Regions from separate parts of the Homo sapiens genome. Here region 2 is linked to region 1. Evidence: promoter capture Hi-C in 16 types of primary human blood cells and fetal thymus (Javierre and others, 2016). All regions are on one chromosome and are shown on one strand. The core of a region is centred on a gene start or on the middle of the fragment in contact, and the rest is flanking DNA. Distances in the headings are between cores, read along the strand shown. Region 1 holds the start of PIWIL3 (piwi like RNA-mediated gene silencing 3). Region 2 overlaps KIAA1671.

What was found. The method cuts DNA at HindIII sites, captures the fragments that hold promoters and counts their contacts. A CHiCAGO score of 5 or more calls a contact.
Region 2: a contact is called between a fragment that was not itself captured here and the fragment with the promoter of PIWIL3 in region 1, in 1 of 17 cell types (M0 macrophages). The highest score is 5.2, in M0 macrophages.

The regions. Positions count from the first base shown.
Region 1 is chr22:24,773,325-24,776,024 of GRCh38, forward strand. PIWIL3 (piwi like RNA-mediated gene silencing 3) reads right to left here and starts at 1,396. Exons shown (of 21, transcript NM_001255975.1): 1 at 998-1,396. The HindIII fragment of the contact is 5,025 bases long and covers 1,023-2,700 here.
Region 2 is chr22:25,069,888-25,072,587 of GRCh38, forward strand. The region is part of intron 6 of KIAA1671; the gene reads left to right. Among named protein-coding and RNA genes, the nearest start is that of KIAA1671-AS1, 41 kb to the right of the region's middle. RefSeq lists an enhancer at 1-286. The HindIII fragment of the contact is 2,931 bases long and covers 1-2,700 here.

The DNA of each region.
Region 1 (2,700 bases), core at 146-2,645:
TCCTTTTGCCAAAAGAATTCAGAAGATACCAACTTTCTCCTCTTTTCCTGTCTGCAGTGGAGGTCCCGGCAGGACCCCCTCCTGAGCTGTGAGGGTTAAATGGGAGAAGGTGTATTGAGCTTGAAGCACTGGCAGGTCCCACAACGAATGCTCAAAAAATGGAAGCCTCTGCCACCATCTGCATCATCCCCATCAACCACAGGAGCAAAGAGCCCGCCTTTTCTGAGAAGAGCATTTACATATTGATAGAAATTCCGCGGTTTTATTTATCATCACGTCAGTTTTAAGGATGTAAGTAGGTACACATATACATATGTATCTAAAATATATTAAGTTTTTAAAAGTAGGTTATTAAAGGATATGTACAAGACACTCTAGATTTTTTTTTTTTTTTTTTTTTTTTGAGATGGGAGTCTCACTCACTCTGTTGCCCAGGCTGGAGTACAGTGGTGCGATCTTGGCTCACTGCAACCTCCGCCTCCCAGGTTCAAGCAATCCTCCTGCCTCAGCCTCCCAAGTAGCTGGGACTACAGGCACCCGCCACTGCGCCCAGTTAATTTTGGTATTTTTCGTAGAGACGGGGTTTCACCATCTTGGCCAGGCTGGTCTTGAACTCCTGACCTCATGGTCCAGCCGCCTCAGCCTCCCAAAGTGCTGGGATTACAGGCATGAGCCACTGTGGCTGACCAAGATGCTCTAGATTTTTAAAATAAATATACATACTCCACATGCTCAAATATAAGCTGAATCTGTAACCCAGCAGCTTAGCAGCCTAACCTCAAACCGCATTTTAAAACTTTTTTTCCTTTCCCCTTTCCTCTCTTCTGCTAATCTGAAGATGTAACTTAGACAAAGTATAGACGTGTTTCCTCTCCTCTTGAAATCCAGCCTTGGAATGTGCTGTGAACCTCCACCCCCTTTCTTTTCCTGTTCTATGCCCCCATGCCTTATGCACATTTATTTACCTAGTTGTTTGGTAAGCACACACCATACTCACTTATCTGGTCACATATTTCCTTAGAAGCTTCAGTAGTCAGATCCTGATACGAACCATGCACCTCCTCCAGCCATGATGACGCCGGCCACTTCCACAGATGGAAAAATAATTCAGGACAAGCCACTGGAGGGGGTCACACCACCTGACACCTCCCAGTCCCCCTGCCTCTTTTGCCTTCCAAATCCTCCCTTTAAAAACCGCTTTGGCCGGGCGCGGTGGCTCACGCCTGTAATCCCAGCACTTTGGCAGGCTGAGGCGGGTAGATCATGAGGTCAGGAGATGGAGACCATCCTGGCTAACACAGTGAAACCCTATCTCTACTAAAAATACAAAAAATTAGCCGGGCGTGGTGGCGGGCACCTGTAGTCCCAGCTACTCGGGAGGCTGAGGCAGCAAAATGGCGTGAACCCGGGAGGCGGAGCTTGCAGTGAGCCGAGATCACGCCACTGCACTCCAGCCCGGGTGAAAGAGTGAGACTCTGTCTCAAAAAATAAACAAATAAATAAATATCTTAAAAAATAAAATAAAATAAATAAAAACCCCTGCGTTCATCCGAGCGCAGTGGCTCACGTCTGTAATCGCAGCACTTTGGGAGGTCAAGGCCGGAGGATCACGAGGTCAGGAGATGGAGACCATCCTGACTAACGCGGGGAAACCCCGTCTCTACTAAAAATACAAAAAATCAGCTGGGCATGGTGGCATGTGCCTGTAGTCCCAGCAACTCGGGAGGCTGAGGCAGGAGAATCGCTTGAACTCAGAAGGCGGAGGTTGCAGTGAGCTGAGATTGCGCCACTGCACTCCAGCCAGATTGGGCGACAGAGCAAGACACCGTCGCAAAAAACAAACAAAAAAAACCCCTGCGTTCTTTCCTCACGTGGAAGAGTGGAATTGCTCTCTGCTCTTGCCCTTGCTAGCATAGATTATAAAATTCTTTCTTTTTAAATCACATGTCATTATCATTTTGACTTCTTTCTACAAGCAGTGAGCAGCTGGGCCCTTTTGCTGGTTACAACATGAGTGACTGGGGCAAATACATCAATCAAGGTTTATCAAGCCAGATTTAGGTTGTTTCTGGGAAAAACACGAGCCAAACATGCACCTGTGGCTATTTTTCTGAAAAGGTTTTTCAGGAGATTTCCTATTTTTTTTAAGAAACTTTATTTTATTTTATTTTATTTATATCTCTATGTATTTATTGAGATGGAGTCTCGTTCTGTCGTCCAGGCTAGAGTGCAGTGATGTGATCTCTGCTCACTGCAGCCTTCGCCTCCCGGGTTCAGGCGATTCTCCTGACTCAGCCTCCTGAGTAGCTGGGATTACAGGTGCATGCCACCACACCAGGCTAATTTTTGTATTTTCAGTAGAGACGGGGTTTCATGATATTGGCCAGGCTGATCTCAAACTTCTGACCTCAAGTGATCCACCCACCTTGGGATTACAGGCGTGAGCCACCATGCCCAGTCGGGGATCAGAGTTTTTAAAAATGATTTGGTGGGTATGGGCTCAGGAAGTAGGGAGTGCTTATTGGTCGGGTTGGAGATGGAATCATGGGGGTGGAAGTGAGTTCTTGCTGATTTCTCTTCCTGGATGAGATCGCAGGACTGGTTGAGCCAGATTATCAGTCTGGGTGGTGTCATCTGCTGCATCGGAATTCAGGGTATGCAAAATATCTCAAGCACTGATCTTAAGTTTTGCAACGGAGA
Region 2 (2,700 bases), core at 17-2,516, 300 kb after region 1:
TGCACACATGCACACATACTTGACTCCACGTAAAAGCATGTACACACACACTCCTTCATGCATAAACACACACACACACGCGTGCACACATTCAGTTCCCGGGCATCACCTTCTCTCTTCTTGCCTTCTTGCCGTACAACTGAAAACCCTAAAACCCTCCGTGCCTACGGCTCCCGGGAGGGTGAGGGTCCAGGCAGCTGGGTTCAGAAGGATCCACCCCTGGACCCGCCCCACTGGACGAGAAGCCAGAGATGCCCCGGGCGGGGCTCATAGGACCGAGTGGTGGCTTCTCAGTTCCCCAGGCAGCCGTGGCCATTAGTGGAGCCGACTGGCTGGTCCCCTGGCCGTGAGCCGGCTTCTGAATGATTTATGCCGCCTTGAACTTGACTCCAGCGTGACAGGAGTGAGAAGAGCCGCTCCCGCTAGAGGAAAGCTGGAAACCGTACTGTGCTCACCACATAACCTCTGGGTGCTGGAAATGGAGTATTACTACTGCCCCAGCCTGCTGAAGCTCTTGCGCTACCTCTGGGTGAGTGGCGGGGGGCAGTGCAGGCTCCAGGACGGGGTCACGTCCTTTCCCTCTCCTCCTGCTTCCTGTCAACTTTGCTTTTTGGCTGTGTCTGGTTAGCAATGTCTCTGTTTTCTTTAAGAAATGGTGGAGGTTACAAGGAAGAGAGAATGTTGGGGAAAAAGGAAACGGGCTTGGTTTGGGAGGTAGCACAGGTTTGTAGGAAGAGCTGAGACTCCTGAACAGGAATGAAGATCCTGGATCCGATGTGGGCTTTCCTCCAGTCCTCAAGAAAACAGGAAGAACGAGAACCACTTCAGTGAGTTTTTCAGAAAGCAACATTTATTTGATTTAAAGGACTATTCTTTATTCTGAAATTACATCCCTCTTGCCTCTGTGTGTGTAAGAATGTCTGTCTTCTATGGGATGAAAATAATAGATTTTGCTTTCCTTTTCCTGAACCTACACAGTGATAGAAGAAGTTGGGACCCCTTCCCCACTAACACTCACACTGTGCTGTCTCCTCTGGATAACAGAGGAAAAAAACCAGAACATTTTCTGATGAAATGCCAAAGTCAGGGAAGCTGTGCAGAAGTGCTTTGTGAGGTATAAAATGCTTTCAGGTCTCACTTTGACTTCGCAACTGGTCTGTTTTCTGTGCCTGGGCAAGTTACTTCTCCTCTCTGGGTTTCTGTTTCCTCCTCTGTGAAATAAGGAGTGGGTGTAGGTGATTCTGGGTTGTGTGACATCCATCAGGGCTCTGGGAATAGAGGGACTTACCGAAGAATTGTCATGGGCTGGTCTCAGAGTTTTCCAGAATATTTGCCACTGGTTTCAGCACACCCAAAAGGGAAAGTCTTAGGAAATATTATCTTTCCCATTGCTGAGTGTTTGCAAATACTTCAGATGCCTTCTTGCCCAGAGAATTTTCCAGCGCTCCTAAAAATACAACTTTAGGAAACATTGCCTTTTAGCCGCCAGTCCCAGAGTGTCTCACCTCCCTCCTGAGCCCCCCAGAGCAGTGGGGAAACAGGAGATCCCCCCAGTCCATATTGTTCAATCATTGGCCTATGAACATTCTTATATAATAAATGTAAGGCAACATTGATTGATTGATTGATTGATGTTTTAATTACAAAAATAATGCATGTGCATGGTAAAAAGATATGGAAAATTCAGACAGGCACAAAGAAGAAAAGAAGTCTCCAATAATCGTATTTTTGAATTGTGTGGTTTGCAAGGTCTGGATAACCTTGATGTGCCTGGCTGCGTGTTGGGCTCTGGGCTCCATGCTGGAGATGCAGAGATGACTAAGATACAGTCCACGGTCCCCAGAACTTAGAGCTTGGCATAGGTGTTGAACTCATTGACAAATGGCTACGATCTCATGTTCATTCAGCACACACTTACCAGCAGTAGTTTGGAGCTAGCGCCAGATACTTGGAATATAGGAGCAAGACGGCATGGTCCCCTGACCGCATGGAACTTAGTCTGGTGAGAATTTGGACTTTGCTCAAGGAACTGAAACAAGGACCATGTATGTGTTAGGATGGGGGTGGTGCACAGTGCCTCAAGGGATATGGTCTCGTTGGGGTGCAGGGGCCAGGAGAGCCTCCCCAAGGAAGCTGAGTGCTGGAGGATGCCTAGGAGCTGGCAGTTGATGCTAGGGTAGGGGTCCAGGGAAGTGTGTGCCAGGCAGAGGGAACAGCATGTGCAAAGGGCTGGGGTGGATGTCAGAAAGAGCAAGAGCCCATGGCATGCCCATGGTACATTCCAGGTACTGGCCTAAGCTCATCCTGGCCAGTAGAGGCTGGGCAGTAATGCCCTCAGCCTCCTAGGGGCAGCTTTGTGGAGTGACAGAGTCACAGCTCCTCACCTGGCTGTGTCCCACCTCTCTAGTGACCTTGGGCAAGTCTTTTCCTCTCTGGGCCTTGGTTTCCCCATCTGGACCATGAAGAGGTAGGATGAGGCAGTTTAGAAAGTCTTTCCTAGATGTGATAATGAGAGAGATTTTCATTTGTCCGCTGCTTTCTGTGGGTGACCAGGTCCTGGGGGAGTGAGGAGCCACATAGGCCCACCGCTGGTTTTGCAAATTACCCACAATTTCTCTGTCTCTCTGAGTCACTGAAGACAGCCTGGCACACGTGTTAACAAGACCGGGATCTTAGATTAGCCCAGGTGTCTGCACTTCT